Regions from separate parts of the Homo sapiens genome. Here all the other regions are linked to region 2. The links are contacts of gene promoters, found by promoter capture Hi-C in blood cells and fetal thymus (Javierre and others, 2016). All regions are on one chromosome and are shown on one strand. Each heading gives the region's core, a stretch centred on a gene start or on the middle of the fragment in contact. The rest is flanking DNA. Distances are from core to core; before and after follow the strand shown. Region 1 has its middle 55 kb from the start of MTERF1. Region 2 holds the start of GATAD1 (GATA zinc finger domain containing 1). Region 3 has its middle 73 kb from the start of SAMD9. Region 4 overlaps MTERF1 (mitochondrial transcription termination factor 1). Region 5 has its middle 34 kb from the start of MTERF1.

Region 1 (5,713 bases), core at 781-3,280, 620 kb after region 2:
AGGAGGTCGAGACTACTGTGAGCCAAGATCACGCCACTGCTCTCCAGCCCAGGTGACAGAGACCCTGTCTCAAAAAACAAAAATAAAAAACTTTGGCTAACACGAAGGCCCCTGTAGTCCCAGCTACTTGGGAGGCTGAGGTGGGAGTATTGCTTGAGCCCTGGAGGTCAAGGCTGTGGTGAGCCGTGATCATACCACTGCACTCCAGCCTGGGTGACAGAGACCTTGTCTGAAAAAACCAAAAAGCAAAAAACAAAAAACTTTGACTAACATGAAGGGAACATTTGGTTACTTTTGTACTCTTGTAGGGAGGTGAGTAATAATGGTTAATGTGAGTGGGACTTAAGCAAATCCTGGCTCTAATGTAATTTTTGTGGGTCTTATGGTTTTGTAAAAAGAGAGAAAGCATCTTTGAGCTACAAGCCATTATTTCTGAGATATCACTGAGAGTGGACAACAGCAACTCTCTTTTTCTGGGCAAAGGAAACGGCTCACAGATGTTCCTGCTGGACACAGCGTTGTTCACAGCTTAATCTTAAAAGTAAGATTATTTTTGTAATTTTACTGACCAAATACAAATGTGGATTTAAGTGCTTGTTTTTAACGATTACAGAGAGAACAACCTGACATAAACTAGCAAGCCAACAGGTGAAGTTTCGACACACCTCCTTTAATAAAGGTATTTTATTTATTCATTCATTCAACAAATATTGCTTAAGCACCCAGTAGGTATAAAGTAGTTTCAAGTGCTAGAGTTTCAACAGTGGACAAAATAGGCTATAATTCTGGCCCATAGGCCAAAACTTATGTTCTAGTAGATGGATATAGGCAAAAAACAAAATAAATGAGTAAAGCATACAGTATGCAGATGGTGATAAGTGCTGTGGCAAAAAATAAAGCAGGAAAAGGGTAGAGGGAGTTCCAGGGTGAATGAAGGGATTCAAATTTAAATAAAAGGGTCAGAGGAGACCTCATTGAGAAGGTGATATTTAAAGAGAAAGGAAGCAAAGGAGTGAGCCATAAAAATATATACAGGGGAAGAGCGTTCTAGGCAGAGGAAATGGCAGGTGCAAAGGCCCAGAGGTAGGAGAGAACTTAATGTATTAACTGAACAACAAAGGGGTCAATAAGGAAGGAGCAATAAAAGAGGGGTAAGTATAGAAGATGAGATCAGAGATGTAATAGTGTCAGGTCATGCAGGTCATCGTAAAGACTTTGGCATTTACTATGAGAGGGAAGGAGCCACTGGAAGGTTGTAAGCATCTGACTGATGTTTTAAAATAATCTCTTTGGCTCTTTAATTGAAATAGGAACCAAGGTTATCAGCTAAGAGTGAGGATAAAGGAGAAGGTGCTAGAAGATTGAGGAGAGATTATGAGGCAGTTGCCTAGGAGAGTGGGACAATTACTTGAATAGGAAATATACTGTGATTACAAAGTAGCATAGTGGGCCCACTGGGGTTTAGTGGTCATGAATTTAAAGTGAGATCAATCAGCCACATAGAGCAGACAGAGTAGAATTTAATGAGGGTTGAAGTTTTGCCAAGTGACTAAGAGAAGAGAGAGTGGAGTAGGGAATTGAGTGTCATGCAGGACAATGCTTTAGTGATTGACTGTGGAATTTAGGCTGGGCAAGGGAAGAAGTGAGTATATGGGCGACAAGAAAAATGTTGATTATAATTGAATCCTTTTATATAATGTTATTCTTTCTAGACTTTTCCACCTAAATATCTGAGGCTTTAAAACACTAGCAGAAGATATCCAGAATGGCTGATTTAAAAATTCAGTTACTTGGTTTGTAGATTTCATTAAGAAAAAATTATACCCATCAAAATCCATCTTTTAACATTATTTGCTATATCTTAGCTAAAAAAACCCCACCACAACTGAAAATCAAAGAAATAAACAAAACCTCCCAAACTAAATAGGACCAAGATTAAGGAAAAAAAATCTCACATATTCAGCTGGAGATATTCAAGGAACAAATGAAAATCACATTAACAGTTTCCTGTTGTACCAGACACTGGCTGTGTAGTAGGGAAACACTTATGAATAGTAGCAGAATAATGGTTATAGTGTATTTGCCATTGGAACATTTATCTCATTTAAAAAATCATGATGTTTCTCTGTTGCCTTTAAAGAAAGACTATTAGACTCTAAGCAGGTAAAACTTGAAAGAAGTGTAAAATAAATTATTTAATGCTTTTTCTCAAATACAGGATAAAATGCCAACATTTGGAGTTTCATAAAATACACATGGTAGTTAGGCTGCTAGAGTAAAAATTGCATCAGAATGTGTAAAGATTCCTAAAATTAAGTTCTAATGAGGACTTGAAAACAGCTGTTTCCTTATTGTTTTCCATAAGCCTTTCTAGGTATAGATACTATAAAAATATTGACAATTCAAGTTCTGCAGTTGGTTAAACATCAAGGATTATTAGCTATGCAATTATTTTTAAGAAAGGAATTAAAAGTGACTTACAAACTTTTATTAGGGCAAGCCCACAACAAATATAGATTTTATTGTTCAGTAGTTTCCAAAGTTCAAACAGTTTTTCAAAAGTTTTGTGAGGAAAATGATGGATAGGTGGCAGGACTAACTTACACCTCCCACTTGGATGGACAGAGCAGTGTGTGGAGACTCACACTGTGAACTTTTGCTCCAAGAACTAGTGCAGGAATACACCAGGAAAGTCGAGAGAATCCACAGACCCTTTGAAGGAAGTGCAGGCTCTGGGAGACATCCAAAAAACTGTGAGTGCCCAAAGTGTGAAGGTGTGAAAGGGGGATCGTCTGCCCCTGAACACACATCCTCACTGGGGAACCTGAAGGTCCAGATCATGGGAGAAGGATTTGACCTTACCTGGAGCTGAGATAAACATAGAGAGCTGAGTGAAATACAGGGGTAGACGAAGCAGTGGGAAGAGCATGTGGGCACTCTTTGTTCCCAGGGAAGCCATTTCTGACTTTGTCTCACAGGGGTCCTTGGGAAGGGATACCAGTGGAATTGGGGAAAGACTACAGGGAGAAGGAAACCTCCAGCTGAACTTTGTAACAATTTCAACCAAACATGAAGTTTCCTGGACAGAATCTGGGTGAGAGGGTGAACTGGGAGCGCAGAAACAGCACAGAAGTTGTGGCAGGCAGGAAGGCATGAAACCTGAAAGCCCTACTTGCTTTCCCAGCGGGAAGGCCTGGAGCCTGGGACAAATCCTCAGCCCTGCTTACCCACTGCCTGGAAATAAACCTGGTGCTGTTGGGGGGGTTGGCACGGTGAAAGTAAGACCGGCCTTTTGGGCTGTGTGGGAGCTGGGTGAGAGCTAGGTGGGGGCTGTAACTGCTGGCTTTCCTCCACTTCCCTGGCAACCTGCATGATGCAGCAGAGGCAGCCATAATCACCCTGGGAATATAACTCCATTGGCCTGAAAATGACACCCCCATTCCCCACAGCAGCCTCAGCAAGCACTGCCTGAGGAGAGTCTGAGCTCAGACATGCCTTACCCTGCCCCAAACTTATGGTCTTTCTCTACCCACCCTGGTAGCTGAAGACAAAGGACATAATCTCTTGGGAGCTGTATGGCCACACCAACTACCTGAGAAACTTTTCCAGGTGACACTAGGGTAAGCCTGTATCCTCTCTATAGTACCACAGCTGATGCTGTTTTGAAAGTGCCACCTCTTGGCTGGAGGCCAACAAACCCAAAACTAGCACAGTAAACAAAACTGCAACCAAGGACCCTCACAGAGTCTACTTTACTCACCTGCTATCTCTACCAGAGCAGGTGCTGGTATCCAGGGCTGAGAAAACTGAAGATGGATCACATCACAGGACTCTTTGCAGACACTCCCCAGTAGCAGCCTGGAGCCTGGTAGCTCTGCTGGGCAGCTAGATCCAGAAGAGAAGTAACAACCTCTACAGTTTGGCTCTCATGAAGCCTCATCCCTGAGCACCCACATCCAGGTAATACCCTATGGGACAAAAGAATCTGAACAATAGCCCTTGAACACTGGATCTCTGATGTAGTCTACCCAAATGAGAAGGAACCAGAAAAACAATTTTGGTAATATGGCAAAACAAGGTTCTTTAACACCCCCAAAAGATCACACTAGCTCATTAGCAATGGATCCAAATCAAGAAGAAATCTCTGAATTGCCAGAAAAAGAATTCAGAAGGTCAATTATTAAGCTACTCAAGGAGGCCTCGGAGAAAAGTAAATACCAACTCAAAGAAATTTTAAAAATGTTATAGGACATGGATGGAAAAATTTCCAGAGAAATAGATAGCATAAATAAAAAGCAATCACAACTTCTGGAAATGAAGGACACACTTACAAAAATGCAAAATACACAGAAAATCCTCAGCAACAGAATAGAACAAGTAGAAGAAATAACTTCAGAGCTCAAAAACACGGCCTTTGAATTAACCCAATCCATCAAAGACGAAGAAAAAAGTTAAAAAATAAACAAAGCCTCCAGGAAGTTTGGGATTATGTTAAATAACAAAAATCTAAGAATAATTGGTGATCCTGGGGAAGAAGAGAAATCTAAAAGTTTGGAAAACATATTTGAGGGAATAACTGAGGAAAACTTCCCCTGCCTTGCTAAAGATCTAGACATTCAAATACAAGAAGCTGAAAGAACACCTGGGAAATTCATCACAAAAAGATAATCACCTAGGCACATAATCATCAGGTTATCTGAAGTCAAGACTAAGGAAAGAATCTGAAGAGCGTGAGGCAAAAGCATCAGTAACCTATAAAGGAAAACTTACCAGATTAACAGCAGATTTCTCAGCAGAAAACCTACAAGCTAGAAGGGATTGGGGTCCTATCTTTAGCCTCCTAAACAAAACAATTATCAGCCAAGAATTTTGTATCCAGTGAAACTAAGCTTCATAAATGAAGGAAAGATACAGTCTTTTCTAGACAAGCAAATGCTGAGAGAATTTGCCACTACCAAGCCAGCACTACAGGAACTGCTAAAAGCGGCTCTAAATCTTGAAACAAATCCTCAAAATACACCAAAATAGAACCTCCTTAAAACATAAATCTTACAGGACCTGTAAAACATTCACACACACACACACACACCCCAAGGTACTCAGGCAACAAATAGCATGATGAATAGAATAGTACCTCACATCTCAATACTAATGTTGAATGTAAATGACCTAAATGCTCCATTTAGAAGATACAGAATGGCTGAATGGATAAGAATTCACCAACCAAGTATTTGCTGTCTTTAAGAGACTCACCTAACACATAAGGACTTCCATAAACCTAAGGTAAAGGGGTGGAAAAAGATATTCCATGCAAACAGACACGCAAAAGTGAGCAGGAGTAGTTATTCTTATATCAGAGAAAACAAACTTTAAAGCAACAGCAGTTAAAAAAGACAAAGTGGAACATTATATAATGATAAAAGGGCTTGTTCAACAGGAAAATATCACAATCCTAAATATGTATGCACCTAACCTGCAGCTCCCAAATATATAAAACAATTACTACTAGGCCTAAGGAATGAGATAGAAAACAGCACAATAATAGTGGGGGACTTCAATACTTCACTGACAGCACTGGACAGGTCATAAAGACAGAAAGTCAACAAAGAAACAATGGACTTAAACTCTACAACAGATGGACTTAACAGATATTTACAGAACGTTTTAGCCAGCAACTGCAAAATATATATTCTATTCATCAGCACATGAAACA
Region 2 (5,485 bases), core at 535-3,034:
AATATTTACTTAGATTTTTAAAGAATGAAAAAAAAAAGTTTTCTTAGTGTACCTGGCCATATCAAGAACCATAATCTCTCCTCTTCCTTTCCATAGAGAACCCCAAAAAATGGGCTCAAGGTTGATGTTTCTTTTAAACCCATATTTTATATTTTCCAGGGGAAAAAATAAAAGCTAAAAAACAAAAAGGAAAGAGTATTATTAACTTTATAAACAGTGAGCCTCCTGCAACAGAGCTCATTCCCTTTTGGGGAATCTGGACCATTCCCCAGAATACTAAGGAAGGGCTACCAAGGGCAGAGTCCAAGTTCAATGGTGAGAAATGAAGGCAGTGGCAGGATACACACAACGTCATTACAGTAAAAGGCACTGTCCACAAATATCTTACATTTTTCAATTTAAATATATGTCTTCTCCCTTTTCCTTTGGTGGAGACTTTCTTTTCAGCAGCCGGAGCAGATTTGTATTTAGTGTTTCTGAGCCGAGCAGACCTCCTGTGAATTTCCTGCTTACTCTGTTACACAAACAAATTAAAGAACAAAAAGAGAAAGAAGTAAAAAGTGCATAAAGGTTGCAGTACAATCATCTTACAAGGATCCCAGAGTATGTACTTTATAAGAGCATTTAACAATTAAGATTGCCCTTTTGCTTTTCAAGAGAAGTAATTACAGCAACTAGGCTAAGTAAAACCGGAAGTTCAGCACCCGGAATCTCGGAGCTCGCTGGACAGGCGTCTCCAGAGCCTCCAAAAGGTGTGAGCTGCTTGTAATAGGGCAGGAGGCGGGAGTAGGAGTCAGTCTTGACCAAGACAAACACTATTCATTTGTTGTGTCTACAATAGAGAAAAACACTTAACAACTTTACTCCCTAAGGCCAGAGAACGTAGTAGGTTATGGCGCCCCCTGCAACGGAATACTTAAGCTGCCATTTACAATAATGACATAATAATCTTACTTCATAACCTGATATGACAAAACCTTTAACAAGGAATGAGGTCCAGCGCCTGCATTTGTGGCATGACACTGTATACGACTGTGTAGACATGTGTATATTGAGATTTTCTTAAGGGCTTTACATCTTGGTTCTTATTGCTTTGAATTTCTTACAATAACAGGTGCTTCGGAATGGGCCAAACGAAAGATCTCAGTAGGAGGTGGGGAGGGGCGTTCCAGCCAGCAGGAGCACGGCGATCGGGGAAGCCCGCGCCCGCCCGCTCCCAGCCAGCCCGTCCCCGCCCGCCTAGCACCTGGTCGGCCTCCGCCGGCGGGAGGGGCCGGAGGAGCTCACCTGCTTGCCGCCCCCGCCCCCGTTGCTCTGCGGAGGGGTGGCGGAGGTGCTGGCGAAGGTCGCCGCGCCGAAGCCGCCGCCGCCGCTGCCCCCAGTCCCTCCAGCCGCCCCCGAGCCTGCGCCCCCGCTGCCCGCGCCGCCCCGGCCAGTGCAATGATGGCAGAGGATCTCCCCCTGCGCTCCCTTCTTCCACATGGAGGACGACGTGGTCTTGCATACGCTGCAGGTGGGCTTCAGGCCCAGCGGCATGGTGGCCGGCTCGGGCGGCCCCCGCGGGCGCAGAGACACGGGAATGGCGGACGGTAGCCCGGCCGCCCCCTGGTCGGCCCGCCACTCCCGGCGATAGGAAGAGCGGTGAGAGCGTCGGCACGGAGCTGCCGGTGAAAGGACCAGGCCGCTGGCGCTGCCCCGTGGAGGCGGGAAGCGGGTTCCGCCGGCTCCGCAGGCGGAGGCCAGGATTCCCTGGCCCGAGGCACTGGGAAGCAGGACTGGGAAAGGGATCTGGCCGGGGTGGGGGGGACGCGGAGACTTCCGGCGGTGAGCTGGCCCCAGGGCCCCGCAGCCCGACCGCCTGACCGGAAGTGCAGCACCCGGAATTACTGGGAGCTTGCTGCAGTTCCGCTTGCTGTCGCCTAGGGGCAGGGTTCTCAAACTTTTTGGTCTCAGGCCTAGAATTTGCCGGGTAAAATACAGGACGCCCAATTAAATGTGACTTTCAGGTAAACGACGAACAATTTTTTTAGCGTGAGTGTATCCCATGCAATAATGGTTTATCCGAGAGGCGTTTAACTGGGGGTCCTGTATTTTTATGTGCTAAATCTGGCAATCCAGGTCTGGCGTGGTGGCTCACGCCTGCAATCCCAGCACTTTGGGAGACCAAGGCCGGCGGATTACTTGAGCTCAGGAGTTCGAGATCAGCCTGGCCAACGTGGTGAAACCCCTTCTCTAATAAATATACAAAAATTAGCCGGGCTCAGTGGCGGGCTCTGGGGTAATCCCAGCTACCCTGGAGGCTGCGGCAGAAGAATCTCTTGAGCGCGGGAGGTGGAGGCTGCAGTGAGCCAAGATCGCGCCATTGCACTCCAGCCTGGGGGATAGAGTGAGACTCCGTCTCAAAAAAAAAAAAAAAATCTGGCAATCTTACTTAGGAACCCTTTACACTCTTAAAAATTATACTTTGGACATCGCCCTACACCTCCCCCATGTCTATACTTTTGTTTAGTTGAATTCAGAGCATGCCGTTTATGGACATCGACAAAGGGTTCAGAAAATGCCATCCACTGACATCTATGTATTAGAAATTGAAATTGAGACATTTTACAGCCTAAGATGTCAAGCGCACATTCTTCAGCCGTTGGATAATATCGTTGCAAATCCTGTGGACTCTGAAGAGTATACCGATTAGAGAATGCGGAGAAAATCGAATAGCTGGCTGTTATTCAATTCAAAACTGTTGGAAAACAGTTTTGGCTCTGAGGACCCAGCAGTTGACAAACAGCAGGCCTGGGACAAGAGCAGTATGAGAAGTCAGATCGCCTCTTTTAATGTCACTAGTCAGTACAGGCCTCGCCAGACAAGTCTCTCCTCAGCCTCACTTGGAAGAACATGCCCTCTCTTCATGATCCTGGGTTTCCTAGACTTAGTATCCTTGGAAAGGTCTTGATGAATATATTGTGGTGGGAAGCAGTGGGGAGAAACAAACGCCTATTATGTCACAAAACCACATTTAGTGCTTATAACAACCTTGGAATGAGATATTATCAGATTTTACTGTTAATTGGTGATCAACGGAGGCACTTCTATGTGGACTGGCTGTCATTATAGCTGCTGCCCTTGGCACCAATTTCGAGGAGGGCTTTGGAACAGCCCTCTGGGGTGTGGGTTGTGGCTCAGTCACCTCCCCTCTAAATCTCAGTTTCCTTAACAGTAAAAATAAGTTTCCAGGACTGTTATGGGGATTAGGGCCAACTGTAAAAGTGGCTGAGGAGACTAGGTAAAGAGTGTTGTCTCACTTTAGAACAATGCTGAAGGTGTTTAGAGCCTGCCATCCTAAAATATGCCACTTTGGCATACTGATTCTTCTGAGCCAGAGGCAATGGAGCAAAAACAGATGCAGGGAAGGCTGTCTGACCACCCTCTTTCTGTTTGAAGCGGAACATAAAAGTTCCCTTGTGAAAGGTGCCCTTTCTGTACCAGGAAGAGGAGAATATTATTGCCAGAGGCAGAGTTGCCACTGAGAAGAATCTACAAACAAAACCTTACAAAAATTTGTAACCCATATTTTCCATTAACTTTCTACATACGGTTCTTCGTCACTTTCCCACAATTTGCCAGCCTTAGCCCAAGCCCCTTTGTCTTGTCACATCCCTGCAATTTATTATTTTTTGTTTAAAAGGACATATAAGCTTTCGGGCCTAGTAACTTCTATGGGTCTTTATTTTTCTTACAAAGCCTCCTGTGCATGTACAAAAATATTAAAACTTTTATGCCTTTTCCAGTAAATCTGTCTTATGTTAGTGTAATTCCCATGCCCAGCTACAGAACCAAAGAGGTGAGAAGAGGCCAGGCGTAGTGGCTCATGCCTGTAATCCCAACACTTTGGGAGGCTGAGGCAGGTGGATCACCTGAGGTCAGGAGTTCAAGACCAGCCTGGCCAACATAGCGAAACCCCATCTCTACTAAAATTACAAAAAATTAGCTGTGTGTAGTGGCAGGCACCTGTAATCCCAGCTACTCGGGAGGCTGAGGCGGGAGAATTGCTTGAACCTGGGAGGCAGAGGTTGCAGCCTGGGCGACAGAGCGAGAGACTCCATCAAAAAAAAAAAAAAAAAAGGTGAGGAGGAAGTTTCTCCTCACCTACAGTGTGAGGAAATCTAGGCACTTGATTTCCATGCTCCTGAATGTCTCTCCATTTGGGAACATATACCTCTCCTTGCAACTCATCTGCAAGTGACTCCCTCTCATTCACTGAAAACTTTGGCCCATAACTCACCAGCTTCCTCTCCACTACAAGACACTGCCATGGATCAGGTCAATATCCACATGTACAGTTGTCCCTCAGTATCCATGGAGGATTGATTCCAGGACTCCCGATGATACCAAAATCCACAATCCATAAATGCTCAAGTCCCTTATATAAAATGGCATAGAATTTGCATATAACCTATGCGCACCCTCCTGTGTGCTTTAAATCATCTCTAGATTACTTATACCAAATATGAAATAAATGCTATATAAATAGTTCCTATACTGTATTGGTTTATTATTATTGTCATATTGTTCATATATTTATCTATTTTTGAGAATATTTTCGGTCTGTGGTTGGTTGAGTTTGTGGATGTGGAACCCATGGCTGTGGAGGGCCAACTGAATAACCACCCAACAGCAGGCTTCTCAACTCCTCCTCATCCCACTCATCTTCATCCTCTGTCCTTGTCAGCTCCCCAGTCCCTGGCTGCTGTATCCTCTAATCTTCTTAGATCATTAGGAAGATTTACATTTTTCTCCTTGCAAGTCCTTTTTTTTTTTTTTTTGGAAATCGTGCTTCCTTTTGAGTACTTAATTCACACTGTTTCCTCTCTTGGATGCTACTATGGTAACAGTCAGGTCCTCTCCTCTCAAGAACATTGCATCTGACCAGACTGAGAGCCAGCGTGAAAGCCAGCCTGAACATGGGCCCCAAATCAGGGTTTTTGGAATCACAAGGAACAGCAAAAACCAGCCTTTCCCTTCACTTAGAAAGGGACTGTGAATAGGAGGGCCCCAATCTCCACCATCCAAACAGAAAACCAAGAGCTCAGTGCCAACATGGAAACCAAAATGTATCAGGAATGAAGTACAGTACCCCCTCACATACTCAAGGTCAAGATGGGTTTGGGGAAATACCTATCTGACCATCTGGCCTCTTCTAGTAGGCATGGCCCCACACCAGCATTTTTAAAAGAAGATGTTTTCATTCTTCTTACATTTTCTAAAGGGGTATAAAATCTACTAAAAGGGATATAATAACTCAGAGTAAATGAGCTCACAAGAATCATTCCTGGATAATCATTTTTGGTTGCTGAGATTATTCAGCACATTACTTCAAAGTGGCAAAATTCAGGGCAATCTGAGAAAAGAGAATTAAAAAGTGGTGGCCACATTTGCTGACATGTTTATGTAGGACGCACATAACACAACTCCCATTTTTTTCAGTGTG
Region 3 (6,083 bases), core at 882-3,381, 600 kb before region 2:
TGATCTTTCTCTCTGGGATTTTTACCCCTCAATTTCCAGATGTTGTGAAAGCTCCAAACACTATCCTTTGACTCCTCAGGTCAATAAGACTGTAGCTTTCTGCTTCAATTCTAGCTGTCCTGCACCAAGTGGAGTATAGAGCACCTTTGGAAAAATCAATAAATACATTGATTTTATCTAATGTGGTTCCTTATTTCAAGGATCAAATTCTCTCTGGTTTTGGGCTGCTTTGTTGTCTCCCCAGTATGTTTCAATTGTTTTCTTTTAATATTTTGTCCAGAGTTCACAATTGTTATCTGTAGGAAGGGCAGTCTGATACAAACTACTGCAACACAACCAGAACCAGAACATATGCAGGCAACTTTTTCATTCTATTTCACTTCAGTAAAAAGTTTTGCACAGGTAGCATAAATTACAGCAAATTTGAAATTTTAGGTGAATCTTTTATTTTTGAATCACAGGTTTCCATTTCTAGATAATCATTGCTTTATTAAAAGGTAGATGCTCCAAAGAGAGAAATAAATGCTTGCCTTCCTTGAGACAATCTCAAAGGAAATGCCATGTCTGTTTTTGTTTAATTTAGTATTTGTAATATAAAGAGGCTTAAGACCTCAGCCTTCTAAAAGTTTTCAACCTGAAAGATGTGAGTTTATTATTATCTATGTGGCCTCCCAGTTTTGCAAATAATCCCTTGAAAACCTCCCTATGGCTGTTTATGTAAATAAGAGATAACTCTGTTTTAATTCATTTCACTGGGTATAGTGTACAAATTAAGGGAAGGAGAGCCAGGTATAAGAATCTAGTGAGCTGGGAAATATGGGATGTTTATTTTGTAGGATGTGGTTTAGAGATTCCTGGTTGGAATGGCCCATACCATAAGAGTTCCGGGTGGGTGCCATGCCACACAGGAAACAATTGTAGCCTGCCCCTGGGAGTAAGCCAGAGAGCTAACAAATTCAGTGTGCATTGTAATGCTTCATCAACACGCCTTCTGCAGGGCCTGCCCTCTCTGCTGGGTCACTGACCTTTATAAGTGCACAGTCATGGCCATCGCCTGACAGGCATGAAAAGGAGACAGACAATGGACGAGAAGGAGACATGCACAGAGGGGGAAAATGCACTCATTCAAGGGATTTACTGGTCAAGGATGTCATGTCCTATGTCCAGTCCCAGAATGCATGTGGTGGTGTTTAAGCCATGCATATCTAGCTACATAAATATAAGGAATGATTATCATCAATATATGAACATAAAAATATCCCTGAGAATCGTGATTGATTTTTGTGGCAGCACAGAACAATGTAGAAAGTAGTTTTGTGCTATAAAATTTTTCACCAATTTATAAAAGCTTTAGATCATTAAAATTGATTAGAGTGTCATACAGCCTGATTTCAAAGGCATTCCAGACTCCAGAGGCGGCATCAGATAGTGACCCGCAAGCTGGGGAGAAAAACATTGAATTTGCATCCTGAATTTGTCCTAAAGGAGCTGTGCAACCTTTGGCCATTTGTTGCAAACAATCAGGCTCCCATTTCTTCATCTGTATACGAGTAGGTGCCATCTTAGTACAATGATACCATTTCCCCGATATTTTAGGATTTCTGTGTTTGTTACTATTCCTTTGCATCCTGAGATGATTCATATAGTTTCTTTTTCAGGAAGTTTAGGAAACATGTTAACACAGTGATTTTCAAAATGAACTTCTGAAACCCTATGTATTTCCCCTGTTCAGTAAGACATACTGGTATTATTTTACATATTGGAATGCCATGTGGACTTTTATTTCTTTTTATTCCATTTTTAAAAGGAGTCTATTTCAAGTCAAAAAAAGCATTTGAAAACCAGTTCTGAAGGATGTTCCTTTTACCTCTGATGGTGTATGATTCTTGTAATGAAAAGGGGATGCATAAATTTGTATCTTTTATTAATAAGCATTTTTCAAAGGCTCTTAACAGTGATATTAAATTAAATGTCTCTCCTATTGATTCTTGATCAAAATAGTGTTCTTATAGAAAAACTATGTATAGCAGATGCATCTGGAAAGGGACATGTGTTCTGAGAACCCCACTCTAGAATGGGAGCACTGTTCTAGAGTACATATACAGCCTCTACCACTACAGAGATTGTCACACAGAGTGGTATTATCACACTGGGTTTGTCAGCATTTCATGGTCTCTAATGGTCTCCTGTGCTTATAGAGCCCAGGGGCATCTCAAAAATGGCATCTTGGCTGGCATTCCACCTCAAAGTGCCTAACAACCCATCTTGCTTCTTGAAGAACTTCTGCTGATTATCAGTGGTTCAGGAAATGTAATCTAATTTTTAACACAAACCAAACCCAAACATAATTACATGCTAAATATGTAGAAAGAACAAGCATATGATGCAGTTCAAAGCCAAATAAACGTGATTTCTATTTTTGATCATTGAAAAGTAATCTTTCTCACCACTGCCTTCTGTAAATATAAGGTAATGTGTGTGAGCCACATGCAAGTGGGTTCCTAAATCCCACTGTATATTTAATATTTATAGTAACTTTCACTCAAGAATCTACTCCCATATGTGCTAGCAATCATTTTTCCACTTTGAAAGCGTGAAGAAATTATTCCCATTTTACAAAAGTAAATAAATTTAGTCCTGGAGAGGATAACATTACAGTTCATTTTCATGTATAAATGGCCTTCCCTGCTAGAGACTGAGCACCTCTATGGGAAAAGAGTGGTGTCCGATTAAATGCTAAGGTGAAAAGTCCAGTTCATCCTCTGGAAGAAAAGAATGATATGTCCTTGTTCATCCCTAAGCCTTCCGGGTTGGAATAACGATAACTGGGATTTCATGAGAACCTAGAAGAGTGATCTTGTTTAATGTATTCACTCCCAAAATACAGTTTCTGGACTACCCTCTAGAAGCTTTTATTCTGTTGTATACAAACTCATTATCATTCATACAGCCTAAAATTTCACATAATCATTTGCTGAACACTTTGCAGTTAGGCTTTTTAGATATATTTTTAGTTTGTTCTTGATTTCCCTATTTGTTTTTTTTTTCTTGCTGGGGGAGAGGGTGAGACATATTGAAATTTAATAGAGATGATTGTTAGACAGAATTTTGAAGGAAGTGAGTGTACTCACCCCACCCACTTCATCAGGAGATGCTTCCTCTGTGAGGTGGGATTTGAGTCATATTAATTTGTCCCAGACCACACCAAAATTAAGCTGTTCACGTCTGAAACATTCCATGAATTCAGTTGCGAGGAGGAATTTGTTCAGCCATGTTATGGATTCATATTTCTCTCCTCTCCCAAGAAGGTCTGGGTGTCCTTATAAGGGAGAACGCCTCTGTTTCCCACAGTGTGGAGAGCGAAATAAATACTCTCTCACAGTCAATGCAGAGGTAACTTTTTTTTAATGGATTAAAAAAAAAAAAAAGCAGTTCTGAGAGTCCATCACTGTTTCAGCATCCCCATTCAGAGAGGGGGCTTTTGTCTCTCTCTCAGTGGGAGCTGCCATTTTAATGGGGCCTCCAGCAGGGCCTGGTTTGATGATGTGAAGTAGGCCTGGAAGAATCGTGGAATTTTTTTTTTAATTTAGATTTTGGTTAATTTAACCATACTGGCTTTCAAATGAACTGAAATGTAAAAGTGAATCCACGGTAAATGTCCCTCAGAAGCTGCTACCAGATAATTTCAGCGATTTCTCATCTCTGAAGCTCTCTCATGTGAAAACCAATCCCTTGAAGTTCTAATAGGCATTACCGGCCGTCTACCCCCAACCCCCAATCTATTTGCAAAGATGAAAATCGGGAGAATTCATTCTTAAAAATATGCATACGCATACACAGACACAAACGTGCACTCCTAAATGCTAAATGAAAACATTGCTTTTAGCTGATTGGTGATGCCAAGCCAGGATTGGGATAGCTTTGTGGTAATTCTGGGGTTTCCCTTTTGCCTGAGTCATGAACACCACGGTACATGGAATGCTCCCCGACCCCAGAGCCTTGGGAGTGCCAAAGCTACTCCCCAAGCCCTCGCCCCAGAGGAGGATTCCAAAATCCCCCACAGCACACTTTCTAGATAAAACTGTTGCTCTCAGTAATGAGGCCACAGCCTGCAGAGCCAAACTGGCCCGCAGGCCGCTTTCTGCAGGCCTGGCGCCGGACCTGCTCTGCCCCCGCCCGCTCCGCAGCCCCCGCGGCCACACAGTGGCTGCGCCTGGCAGCTGCGCGCCCAGATGCCAACCGCTGGAATGTGTTTTATGTTCCCGCGTCTCTGCCTGGCTGGCCTCGGGGGAAGGCTCTTCCCTGGCCTCTCCGGCTCCGGCGCTGGGCTGCGGCAGCTGGGGAACCGATGTGCGATCATTTTACACATGAGCTAGCTGTTCACCCTTCCAGGAACTGTTTGCCTGCACTAATTCCGCGCAAGATGCACACACTGAGCCCCTTTGTAGGGCTGAAGGATGACAGTCTCTCCAGCCTAGATTGATTTAGTAAATGACTGACTGCATGGGCCTGAGTACCTGGGTATTCGTGTGTGTGTGTGTGTGTGTGTGTGTGTGTGTGTGTGTGTGTGTGTGTGTGTGTTGACTTAAAGGCGCTCCCTCTTTGCAGAAATAAATGAATTAATGAATTTTTAAAAAGAAGGTAGAACTAACGCATTTTCGAAAAAAGCAAACATCAGGGAATGTGCAGTTTGTTACAACATATCTATCCATGATTCCATTTTGGGGGAATTTATATGAAGATATCCCACAATCGGGCAATCGCCAAACAAGAAAGCATCCTTAATTGAGTTGAAACTGGGGGTAAGGGGACAGAAAAATCGCCCCCATAAAATAATTTCAAATTCAGCCTTGTGTTTCCCAGTAATTGGGCTGTCTGAGGATGAGACTGGGAGTGGAAAAATCCAAGTTAGTCTTAGAGCTGCACTTCTCAAAAGTGGCTGCAAAGGCTTTGAGGTGGTCAGTGATTTGTGTTTATTTACAACAATGCTTTAATTAATCATATTTAATAAGATTTGATATCACTTCATCGGTGGCTAAGCAAAATATTAATTATGATTTAGTTTGTTGACTTACCACTATCAAGAACTTGGATGATGATTTTTTTTAAATCATTTTATCTCTCTGTGCCTTTTCTATGCTTCAGAAGTGACAATGGCATGTTTAAGAGTCTAGGAAACATTTGAGCCTGGGATGAAAAGTCAGATACTGAAGACCCAGTTGTACACATAATGCATTTTTAGAGAAGATACATAAAAATGGACATCCAGCCAGGTGTAGTGGATCATGCCTGTAATCTTACCACTTTAGGAGGCCAAGACAGGAGGATTGCTTGAGGGCAGGAATTTTAGACCAGCCTGGGCAGTATAGCAAGACCCCATCTCTACAAAAAAAAAAAAAGAGAGAGAAAGAGAAAAAAAATGGACATCACTTACAAAGTACACTCTCAATAGCAGATATGCTCTATCTTTAAAAAAAGTTTTGAATTATTAATGTATCACCTTCTTGTTAAAGAAAACAATACCAAAATGTTTAAAATTAAAAGTAAAAATTACCTCCATTCCCACTCCCCTGGAATAATCACTTACAAATCCAACAAGTATCTTTCCAGTCTTTTTAAACACACAAACACATATACTGTATAATATATATGTGTATAAAATATATGTGTGTATTGCATATGCTTGTATACATGCAATATACATTTAATGTACCTATAGAGAGAGGATCGCTTCTTTTTAATGGGATCTTGTTAAACATATTGTTCTATAACTTCCTTTTTACTCAGAAATGTAATCATGAATAGCCTTTAATACCAGTATTATATTATTTGTAGTGGCTCCATAATATTCCAGAATATCAGTGTATGTTTTATTTAGTCCTTCCCATATTTATGGTCATTAAAGTTATCCCAAATTCTTCAGTAATATCAATAATGCTGCCATAAACATCCTTGCATATATATCATAAATTTTAAATATATATTTAAATGCAGCTGTTTTTGTTGTTGTTTTTTGTTTTTGTTTTTGTTTTTGTTTTTTGCCTCTGTGGAAACTGGAACTGTCAACTGAGAAGGGAAAGGCA
Region 4 (5,811 bases), core at 3,016-5,515, 580 kb after region 2:
AAATTGACCTTCCAGAGTTGGTAGGAATCAAATGAAAAAGCACCTCTAAGGTTTCTTGCACATAGTAATGATGCAATCAGTGATAGCTATAATAAAAAGATAGTATTTTAAAAAGCAGCTTTATACATAATTCACATATTCAATTTACCTATTTAAAGTCTAACACAGTTCAATTTATATATAGAGTTGTGCAACTTTATCTTCCATTGCTTATAATACATTTATAATTTATTGGAAAATTTATAAGGAAAATGAATTTCTTACAGTTATGGAAGCTGAGAAATCCTAGGTTGAGGGGCCACATCTGGTGAGAGCCTTCTTGCTGGTGGGGACTCTGAAGAGTCCTGAGGCGGCACAGTGTATCACATGGCGATTGCTAATGTACTTAGGTCTCTTTTCCTCTTATAAAGCCACCAGTCCACTCCCATGATAGCCTATTAATTCATTAATCCATGAATAGATTAATCAATTTCTGATGACATAGCCCTTATGATCCAGTCACCTCTTAAAGGCCCCACCTCTCAATACTGCCACATTGGGGATTAAATTTCAACATGAGTTTTGGAGGGGATGGATAGTCAAACCATAGCAGCAACCATCACCACAATCTAGTTTTAGAATATGTTTGCAGTCCTAACAGAAACCTTGTACCTGTTAGTGAATCCCCATTATTTCCCTCCATTTGTTCCCCCAAGCCTAAGCAAAAATGAATCTGTTTTCTGTGTCTATAAATTTGTTTATTCTGAGCATTTCATATAAATGGAATCATACAGTATGGTCTTTTGTGACTGGCTTCTTTCACTTAGCATATTTTCAAGGTTCATCCATGTAGCACATATTAGTATTTCATTTTTTTTGGCAAGTAATATTCCATTGTATGGGTACAGTAGTATTGGGAATACATTTTACTGTTATGGCTTAAAGTATTGATTTCTTAAGTCTTCTGAATTGTACGCGAGTGTTTTCTGAGGTATTGTTTTGGAATCTAACAAGCTCATAAGGGACTTGAAGGAGGTGGGTAGAAGAGATAATAGTTTATTGACATCAGCAGATCATAGGATTGTAGCTGGGCTGATGAGAAATGGTATAGCAACGATAGTTGCAAGTGGCCAGAGAGAATGTGGGTTGCACTGAAGTACAGTACAGCACTTGATCATTGGGCAGTAGGGGATGGGGGAAGGAAAACTTTGGAGAAACAAACAGATAATGCCTGTCAGGCAAAATTAACATGTCATACTTTAAGGTTTGAGTCTGATCAAGGGAGAGTCAATTCTTTTTTTTTAAAGATAGAATTATAGAAATATTGGCCAGCCATGTAATCCCAGCTCACGCCTGTAATCCCAGCAATTTGGGAGGCCGAGGTGGGAGGATTGCTTGAGCCCAGGAGTTCAAGACCAGCCTGGGTAATACTAGCAAGATATCATTGCTAGTAGGGAAAAAAAAAAAAAAAAAAAGGCCGGCCATAGTGGTGCGCACCTCTAGTCCTAGCTATTCAGAGGCTGAGGTGGAAGGATCCCTTGAGCTCAGAAGTTTGAGATTGCAGTGAGCTACAACTGTGCCACTGAACTCCAGCATGGGCAAGGGTGAGACCCTGTCTCAAAAAATAAATTACAGAAATCTTCAGTAATATTTTGTCATGAGTGAAAAAATCCATGTTTATGATGGGAAAAGATAGAAAATAAACCCCCCAAAAGAAAATAACTATAATCTTATCTCTCAGAGATCATTAACATTTTGGTGACTCTTCCTATTGTTTTTGTTGGTAGACATATCCATACGTGCATGTAATATGAGTAGATGAGTGGCATATATGTTTGAAACCAAACTATTTTATAATTTTTTTAGTGTAATAGATCCTGAACATACTAAGTATTCTTTAGTAACTAATTACAAAATCAAGTATTTACCTATAACATGATTTTTTAATGGCTGCATGAAATTCTGTTCTTTGGATAAACCATAATTTGTCACCATTGGTCAGAGTGAGTAAATTTTAGTACATTAGCAATTTTTTGAAAATCCTACCTAGATTATTTCAGTATTCCGTAGTGTTAATGCATACCACCATGTTTTAATCGTTGGTATATTTTATAACTTAAAATTTTGGTCTAGAAAATATAAATATTAAGAGTGCTGCATTTTGCCGTTCTCCAAATGTCAGATGGATCTGTAAAACTTCATTTTTAATGGAAACCATTCTAAATTATTGCCATAAATTTGAGCACTTTCAAATAACTGCAAGAATTTGGATAATATCACAGATTAAAAAGAAAAAAAATGAGTTTCTTCCAGATGAATTTAGCAGGAAGGAATTTAAAAAGTGAATATTTATAGATGGGTTTATTGGGTTATTAAACTAGTAATTTCTCCCCTTAAATAATTTCTAAGGCTGGGTAGGTACATGGTCTATGGCTAAAGATCCAACAATATAGCTTTCCTGTAAAAAAACAAAACAAAACCCTGACTACTGGCTCCTTCCTTGTTAGTCTGTAATGCCTCCTTACTTGCTACCATCTAGTGGAGATCCAGTAGAGAACTGTTGATGGCAGAACCCTAGCCACAAACTTTGGTAATAGTCCATTGTTATACAGTTCAGGAAAAGTTTGGCACAAGCGAGCTAGAATAGCAGGACTGTATTATTATTAGATTTTGGGAAGAAATAGAAGATACACTGATGGAATTTCATTTTCTGTCTCAGTTTCACTATTTTTCTGATCAGTATTTGGGATTTATTTGTCCTTAATAGAAATATTATGTGAAGATTAATGAACTTTTGTACATGAATTGCTTTATGTTAATTATGAACAATTTTAGTATGATGATATGCTAATTCTTTCATTTCCATTTTGAATATCCCAGTGCCACTTTCACCAGCTCTCAAGGTACCTTCAAATTCTGCCCACCATAATTCTCTTTCTTTTAAAAGTTTACCTTGGAAATGAATTTATTCTGTGGTAATAATCATTGTAAAAGTCTTTGAACAATACAAAGAAACAAAGTCTCAGCTAACCTATTTATCATGAGGTTGAAGAGATATCCTTTTATTCTTAGTTCACAAAGGGGTTTATTTATTTAAATCAGGGATGAAAGATGGTTTTTGAAAAAAAATCCTTTAAAAGTAATCTCTTAATCATTTAATGAATGACATCAGTGGATTTCTGCATATCACTTTTTGTTTTTACTTAAAACCTATGCCCTATTCAATTTACTAATATTTTACTTAGATTTTCATTAGTATTCACAAGGGAGATTGGTCTACAGATCCTTCCTACCTTTTATTATGAAAGTTTTGGTACATAGATTTTTTTTTTTTTTTTTTTTTTTTTTAATAGGGGAAGGAGGTTGCCACTTTGTCAGGTTTTTGGATCGGGGCTGTGCTAGCCTCAAGATAATTTGGAAGCTTACTATTTTTTCCCTATGTTTTGAAACTGTTTGAAAACTGGAAATGATCATTTCTTTAAAGTTTGGCACAACTTTGAAATTATCTGGGCCTGGTGTTTTGTTCAGAATAGATCTTTTACAACAATGGAAAGTTGTTGTAAAGGCTTATATGAAAGCTATTGACCTGTATCTTTTTGGTAGACAGCAATATAAAGCTCTCTCTTATTGTAGTTAATACATTTTGGTTTGAATTCTACATTGAAATTAACATTGCCATGCTTTATGTCTATTCAAATAATTGTACTTGTTCAAACAGCTTTACTTGGAATAACCAAAAACTGGAAGTAACCCAATGGACATTGGAACAACATGGAATTGAAAAGTACATTGTGATATATTCAGGCAGTGGAATATTACTCACCAATATGAAATAATGAAATATTGATACATGCAACTACATGAGCAAATCTCAAAATATGCTGAATGAAAGAAGCGAAAGAGTAAAATCTTTATTATTCAGTTTACATAAAATTCTAGACAGTGCTCACTAATTTGTGGTGACAGAAAGCAGATCATTGGTTACCGAGATGGGGTGGATGGATGAAGAAGGCCATGAAGAAAGGACTGCAAAAGACTACAGGGAAACTTTTGGGAGTGATCTATATATTCATCATCTTGATTGTGGTGATTGTTTTGTGAGTCAAAATGTATCAAATTATATGTTTTAAATATGTGCAGTTTAGTACACTTCAGTTATACCTCAGCAAAGCTGAAAAATCCATTCAACTCTGATTTGAAATGCCATCTTCGTCTGATGCTGTTTACATGTCTCTGAGTGTGTTTCTAGGCTCTCTTCAAGTCTACTAAACAAATATATTTGACTTTATGTTTCTATATTGACATAAATAGTTAGACAGTATCTTTTCAGTAAAAGTGTTGGGAGAACTGGGAAGCCACCTGAAAAAAAATATTGATAGATTCGTATTCATACACCAGGATAAATTCCAAGTGGAACAGTCATGAGCTCCAAACCACTCAAGCCCCTGCCTTGGCATTACACTTAATGACCTATACTTAAGTCAGGCCATGACATGAACTAAACACTGGTACTAATATCAGAATCTTTTTCATAGGGGGCTTCCTGGAACTTGACTTGGACCTATGGGCTAGAATTTACCGAAAGCAGCTGACCCGTGCTTTGCTTTTACTATTCCAGGAATGCAGATAAAGTCTAACTTCCAGCTAGACATGGTGGCTCGTGTCTGTATTCCTAGCTACTCGGGAGCCTGAGATGAGAGGATTCCTTGAGCCCAGGAGTTTGAGTCCATCCTGGGCAACATAGGAAGCCACCATCTCTTAAAGAAGAAAAAAAAAAAACCTAGATTTTGACCTTTTCGTCACAAGAAAACAAAGGCTCTTATGAAGTCCCATGCCCTGTTAAGCACTGGTTTATTTAATTAGTTAATGGATTGGGTTTACGCTGTCATACAGCTACATATAGCCTCCTTTTCCAAGGAAAGTAGGCTGCAACCACCCAAGTTAGAGGCAATCTTTTTTTTTTTTTTTTTTTTTTTTTTTTTTGCTTTACTGCAGTTAGGGAGAACTGATTGTCATGTTGTACCCTAAATATCAACTAAAGTGTCTATGACAAAATTAGTGCAGTTAGATCAGCATTATCCCACTCTGTATGTTTGAATTTCTCTCTCTGACCTGCACAGCTACTTCAGAAGCCCTTCTGAATGAAGCTTTATGTTTGCAATTCATATAAGTACAATACAGCTGGCTATAGCTTACTGTTTTAGCTGAATGTGATAAATTATTCACAGAATTAAAGTTTAACTTTGTGATAACAAGTATATAAATTATATATAACTGATTAAAAAGATTAAAATTAGGTCTTAATCTGTGTTTACTTGTGTGTAGAACTTCATGAACTGTAGGGGGAACTAGATAGAGGTTTTGCTGTACAGTTTCTAAAGCCAATTAGCTCTAAATCTGGCTGATAATCCAAACTAAATTAAGCGTCCTTTAAATGCCAAAAGAGGTCGGCACTGTGCCATTTTTTCTGTAGGTTGTCAGCCTTAAGCTGTAAGAAAATAAACAGATACTTTTGCATATATATATTTCCCTGTTAGTTTAATGTCTGAAACTGTTTTCTTTTAATGGTTATTCTTTTTCTTTTCTCTCTCCCTTCCTTCCTTCCTTCCTTTCTTCCTTCCTTCCTTCCTTCCTTCCTTCCTTCCTTCCTCTCTCTCTCTCTTTCTTTCTTTTTCAAGTACCACTTTTTCATTTTTCATTGTCTTAGTTCTGAAATTACATTAGGGTGCTTTTTTCATTTTCATCTAAGTTTAACACCTTGTTTGTTACACAATGTTAATGCTTAAAAATATACAGCAATGTCTTTATACTTATTCAGTTACTACTGCCAAA
Region 5 (5,841 bases), core at 2,944-5,443, 600 kb after region 2:
CCTGCTATTGGTGGGGTTCTCTCAGGCCCAGTATGCAGGTCTCTTTGGTAGCATCTTCATCCTCTATGCCATTTACTCAGTACCCATATCTAAGGTCCTGGCTTGGTCTTCACAGCAGACCTATCATGGAATAACTGGATAAACCTGAGACTGAGCATTCCTCTAAAATGTATTTGTCAGGATAATTTATTGACATTTTGTTGTTGTTTCCATTATCCCCAGGAGCTGTTATGTTCTGATTCTGGGATTCCTAGCTTCAAGGTATTATAAACTGCCTTTATATGGCAGACCTGAAAAATAACATGGATGAAAATGGAAGTTTCTTGGTCTCTGGAATAAAACCCCATCACCCATGTTATTGTTTTGGGATTAGAGATGTTGAGGGAGGGAGGCAATGGGAGCATGAAGGTGAGGGGTTTTCTGGGAGGGCAGAGGAAACAGAACTGGCAGGAATGGAAATAGCTTTCAGAGATTTGGGGGGAGTACTAATCTGGGTGATAGCTTAATGAATGGTTGCAACCTGTCCCCTTGCCTTTTAATAAGTCTTTGGATGGAGAGTTGAGGTGGTTCATGTTGATACTGTGGACAGCAAACATTTATAACTGTCATGGAAGCTGGCTTAAAAGATCCCTGGCACAGAAGAATGGTGTGGTCCTTCTTTGAATGGACTGGTGGACTGAGGCAATTAACATCTCATGTGTGATCATGATGGCCTAAGGATCATAAGAGATTTACTTTGTTTTCAGGGCACCATCCTGCTTCCCCATGCTGGTGGGGGGCATTGAAGAGGAGAAGGCAGTCACCCAAAAGTGAATTGGAATATCTTGATACTTCTGGCTGGTGAGGGCAGAGCCAGATTTTTTTTTTTTCTGAGTAGAACATATCCATTTAATGTGAGCTGTCTTGCTCTTAAATGTTGTAAAACAAATTTATACCTTTTTTTGTCCCCCACCCCCACCAAACCGATTGTTATCCAAGTGTGCTTTTTTCTCAACTTAGTCTCAATTAAAAAAGAAAAGATGTGGAAGGCAAATTTGGAAAAACACTTTTATCTCTTGACCTCCTTTGTTAGCAGCTGTAACAATCTTTAGGAAACTTCAAAAGGATACGTGGGAACAAAGGAGAAAAGCCAAGACTGCTGTTCTGTGATGCAGTAGACCAGGAGGAAGAGTGAAACCTTGGTGGAAGCAACAGGTGGTAGCAGTTGGAGGGGAATCAGAACAATCCCAGGGCTGCTGGAAGAAAAGAATGATGGTGTACAGGCTAGACCAAGGAGTGAGGCCTGAGGTGTACCCTGGCAGAAGACTTTTGTCGATTCCTAACTTCCTAGACCCCATCCCATACTTTCACCCCTCAGACCCAGTCTCTGTCTTCATACGCCCTTACATAAATCTTCCACTATGCTGGAGCCCTGGCTCCAGATGATAGTGGCCAATACTGGTGGTTTATATTTAGGACAAGGAAGTTGAACTCCTGTTGCCCAGTAGCAGGGGAGGTCTGCAAGAGGGAAGTGAGGATGATGTTACCAGAAGTTGTGTCACAGGCATAAAAGGTCAGAATTCTTAATGAATTTCCTCAGAGACATTATTATACATCATTCCATAGTATTACTTAACACAGGTGCGTTTTATTCCTATTAAAATATCAGCACAACTATATGTTGGGTTAAATAGGCTTTTAACCTTTTAAATGACCTTTCTTAAGAACCTAACCAGTGGGTATAACATTGTTTCTGTGGTAAAATGCTTTTAAAATCCTACAATAGACTGACAAAAGAGCCTTTGAATACAATCTGTTTGTAAATTGGATTGGCCTGGCTGGGGTAAGGAGGCCCACCCTGTTCTTTAGCTTTAATGTCTACCCTTGTTCAAAGAAGGCAAAGTCTTTTATAGTGACAGGCCACACTGAGTTTAAATAAAGATAAAGATTGGCTCCTTGCAGGAGAGCCTGTCCGATTTAAGATAGGTCATATTTAATGAAATGTGGCATTAAATAGGCCTGCTTCAAATGGGGCAGTTTGTGTAAAGTTCGCTACTATTATCGGACCATCTGTGTTTACTTTTGTGTGAAGGCAGAAGTTTCAGTCTTATTTTGGATCAAAAAATTGCTCAGTGTGATAAGGGGTGTGAAAAGTAAAAAGTAAATCAAAATGGGGATTTTATTTTTTATTGGTTGCCATTTTCAATGGAGAATAAATTAAACATGCAGAGTTAAAAGGAAGGTAAAGAGGAGGTGGTTGACAGCTTAGTCATGTTTTATGTAACACTTGTTTTTCTTTTACATGAACGCATTATACCATCCATCAGGATAAATTAACATGTTGTGGGCCTTTAAAAACTATAAAGAAAATAATTTTAATGGTTCCAATAACAGCTCCAGATGAATGCTGGAAAACAGATATTCCAAACTGTCAAATAGCGTATGTATTGCTTGGCTGTTTTATAACCGCAAGTAAAAGCTGCTTTTGTATGAGGTTTCCTTGACTGCCAATGGAAGAACTGTAACACATTTATTGTGAACAAAATTGGAATGGAAATGAGACGTGTTACAACAGAATGGCACCTAATTCCTTCTTGCCAGTTGCCCTGAATTAACATAATAAGTCATTAGGACAGTAAAAAGTTCTTGGTTAAAAGAAAGAATAATTTAATTAAATAGATTTACAAAAATGACAAGTTCATACATGTATCACTTATGATATGGAAACTTTGTTTGAAAATATGGTTGTCTTATGTGAGAGAATAGAATTATACCCTATATAAATGTATATGTTCAATGGAAAAAAAATCATAAACTTCAGAGGAGAATTTATCGGCGGTATGGAAAACAACTGAAAAGTGTTTGCAACAAAGGCCAGTTCTGACTGCTGTTTACTGCAGGTAAGGGGCTTCAGGATGCTGCCCTATGTTTGAAGGGGTGACTCATGTCATTATTTATTGCGGTTAATTGCTAATGTTTGTGAAGAGCACAGTATGTTGCATAGCAGGACCAAGTAATCCATGGTGACCTTTTGTGCTATCAAAGCTTTATCAATTAGAAGCTCTTGATTATAAATTCATAGGATGCCCAGTGAGTGCCATCAAAGAAAGATTATACTTGGCTTCTTATGCAATCTGATTTTTTTTTTTGTTGGCTCCTCTTCCTTCAAAACTGAACCCTCACCAGGGAACTATTTCTAAATCTGCAAAGTGAAGCATATTCAAAATGTTTTCAGACTTCAAGGAGTATTGTGGTTTTTATAAGCAATTGCAGGAATTTTATAAAAATAGTAGTTATATTTTCCTGATAAATACCTTTCTTCTTGAGACTCCTACACTGGCTATCTTCCTGGTCACTTTTTTCCCCATCTGCTTTGTTCTATTGATGCTAGGCCTGCATGACATTTACAAAAACTTTGTTAAATACTTCAAAATTATAAATTAAAGTCCTTATTTTACTATAATTCTCACTGTGAGTCAGTCTTAAAATATTTGTTCATTTTCATTCACTGATCCCCTGATAATAGGAACTTTGAGTTCTCATTTGCCTTCATGTTGCTACAGCTCTTGACAGTGTTTAATGCCCCATTTCTTGAAATTATCTGCTCTCATGTCTTTTTTTTTTTTTTTTTTTTTGAGATGGAGTCTCGCTCTGTCGCCCAGGCTGGAGTGCGGTGGTGTGATCTTGGCTCACTGCAAGCTCTGCCTCCCGGGTTCACGCCATTCTCCTGCCTCAGCCTCCCGAGTAGCTGGGACTACAGGCACCCGCCACCACGCCCAGCTAATTTTTTGTATTTTTAGTAGAGACGGGGTTTCGCCATGTTAGCCAGGATGGTCTCTATCTCCTGACCTCGTGATCCGCCCGCCTTGGCCTCCCAAAGTGCTGGGATTACAGGCGTGAGCCACCGCACCTGGCCTCTCATGCCTTTTAAGACACTGCAATATCCTGGATTTCTTTCTGTTTACTTTGTCCTTTTTTTTTAAATTGACTCTTCTTCCCGTTTGTTTTCTCTAATTTAGCCTTAACCAAGGCTACAGCAGCAGCCTTTTCTCTCCTTTTCTCTCCTCTAATCTCATTGCTAGCTCTTCTACCAGCAACTGTTTTCCAAACCTTGGGTCCACATTGCCAACTGTTGTCAAACATCTCTACTATCTCCATCAAAATTGTCCAAAATCAGACTCATGGTTTTCCCTTGCCCATATTCAGGATCCTAAATTATGATCAGAATTACTCCCCTAAATCTCCTTGCCAGTTCCACTCTTAGGATTACCACTACTGACTTATCATGTTAGCACTAAGTTGTAGTTCTGCTTTCCCCCACCTCCCACCATCATGGTCTAGTCTACAAGACTGCGTTTCTGCTATGGTTGCTGTTTATAATTGGATTGGAATCGGTGGAAGTCTATGGACCATGGTGTAGTTATTCTGGAATTTATAGATCAGTAAGATAGTTATTCTGGTCTTAACTGGGCTCACTTAGGCATCTATGGTTAGCTATGGGTCTGGAAGTTTGCCCTGCTGATCTTGGCTGGACTTGTTCACATGTTTGAATATCTGCTGGCTGTAGGTTGGTATTTCATCCTCAGAAAGACAGCTTAGATTTGTTGTCATGGCAGAGACAGTGCTTAGAAGTTATAAGCCTCTTGGAACTCATCTGAATGGTAGTGGGAGCCCCAGTGGTTCATTCAAGGCAATAGGAAATGGAGTGAAGGAAGCAGATGGAATATAAGAGGTGGTATAGAAGGCAGGACAGATCTTGAGAGGAAGGATCCAGCTGGAGACTAACTCCAGAATGGTAGCTTCCAGTGAGGAAGCCGAGCATGTCAGGAGTCTACACACAGTGGTGGTAGCTGAGGTGGATTGAGTGTGTTGATGGCACAATTAACAGCCTGTCTGTACTCACAGCCATTTCAGACTTTGCAGCTTTTTCCATTTGTGATGGAGTCTATTTTCCCACTCCTTGAATCTGGGCTTGTCTCATAACTTGTTTTGGCCAGTAAAAAGTAGGTAAAGCCACAAGGTTTTGGCACTCCAGTCTTGAAAGCCTCTGTGGTCTTCCCATTCTCCATTCTCACTGACAGGAGAACTTGCTAAATATTCTCTCTTCAGTCATGCCATCCCTGAACATCTCGTCTAGAGTTGGTTTTACTGTTTTTATTTTCTTTTTTCTATTTTCAGTTCTTTTTAAAAATTATGTTATTATGATTGATAATTATTTTGTTTACTTTTTTTCTTTTTGTTTCTCTAAACTGTGAGATCCATGAGTATAGGATAGCTGTTATCCTAGTGACTATCACAGTGTCTGGCACAAATTAGGGACTCAATAAATATTTGTTGAATTAAATTCTATGAGACCTGGTGAATGAATTTTTAAGAAGCTTTTCAAGTTTCAGATGTGTGATCAAGTTGATGACCACCATAGTATACTTCTTTTCTTTTAGCTACCTCACAGATTCATCTTCTGAATATTATCTTGGCTGGGTGCAGTGAGTCACACCTGCAATCCTAGTGCTTTGGGAGGCTGAGGTTGGAGGATCACTTGAGACCAGCAGTTTGAGACCAGCTTGGGTAACGTACCAAGACCCCATCTCTAGCAAAAGACCTGGGCGTGGTGGTGCATACCTGTAGTCCTAGCTACTTGGGAAGCTTAGGATTACTTGAGCCCAGGAGTTCCAGGCTGCAGTGAGCTATGACTACGCTATTATACTCCTGCCTGGGCAACAGAGTGACACCTTGTCTCTAAAAATATAAGAAAACAAACATTTTCATAGCCTTTGTTCTGCTTCATGGCCTTTGTTTCAGTTTCATATCTATTATCTGCCTATTCCCTATAGTATTTTGCAACTCGAATCTTTAATAAAA

Evidence for each region. Contacts are between HindIII fragments. The CHiCAGO score rates a contact against its expected background, and 5 or more counts as called.
Region 1: a contact is called between a fragment that was not itself captured here and the fragment with the promoter of GATAD1 in region 2, in 11 of 17 cell types (naive CD8 T cells, naive CD4 T cells, non-activated CD4 T cells and 8 more). The highest score is 11.6, in naive CD8 T cells.
Region 3: a fragment that was not itself captured here is called in contact with the fragment with the promoter of GATAD1 in region 2 in 3 of 17 cell types (activated CD4 T cells, neutrophils and total CD8 T cells); the score reaches 5.3 in activated CD4 T cells.
Region 4: a contact is called between a fragment that was not itself captured here and the fragment with the promoter of GATAD1 in region 2, in 4 of 17 cell types (naive CD8 T cells, endothelial precursors, fetal thymus and 1 more). The highest score is 6.2, in naive CD8 T cells.
Region 5: a contact is called between a fragment that was not itself captured here and the fragment with the promoter of GATAD1 in region 2, in 3 of 17 cell types (endothelial precursors, fetal thymus and erythroblasts). The highest score is 7.2, in endothelial precursors.

Annotation. Positions count from the first base shown.
Region 1 is chr7:91,822,381-91,828,093 of GRCh38, reverse strand. No RefSeq gene overlaps it. Among named protein-coding and RNA genes, the nearest start is that of MTERF1, 55 kb to the left of the region's middle. The HindIII fragment of the contact is 5,722 bases long and covers 1-4,891 here.
Region 2 is chr7:92,443,781-92,449,265 of GRCh38, reverse strand. GATAD1 (GATA zinc finger domain containing 1) reads right to left here and starts at 1,784. Exons shown (of 5, transcript NM_021167.5): 1 at 1,288-1,784; 2 at 389-514. The coding sequence starts at 1,536. RefSeq lists an enhancer at 615-664 and a silencer at 1,095-1,864. The HindIII fragment of the contact is 4,596 bases long and covers 1-3,694 here.
Region 3 is chr7:93,041,748-93,047,830 of GRCh38, reverse strand. No RefSeq gene overlaps it. Among named protein-coding and RNA genes, the nearest start is that of SAMD9, 73 kb to the left of the region's middle. RefSeq lists an enhancer at 3,239-3,970. The HindIII fragment of the contact is 1,561 bases long and covers 1,351-2,911 here.
Region 4 is chr7:91,866,570-91,872,380 of GRCh38, reverse strand. It overlaps MTERF1 (mitochondrial transcription termination factor 1), which reads left to right. Exons shown (of 3, transcript NM_006980.5): 3 at 1-1,452. Among named protein-coding and RNA genes, the nearest start is that of MTERF1, 11 kb to the left of the region's middle. The HindIII fragment of the contact is 1,726 bases long and covers 3,403-5,128 here.
Region 5 is chr7:91,844,024-91,849,864 of GRCh38, reverse strand. No RefSeq gene overlaps it. Among named protein-coding and RNA genes, the nearest start is that of MTERF1, 34 kb to the left of the region's middle. The HindIII fragment of the contact is 2,333 bases long and covers 3,027-5,359 here.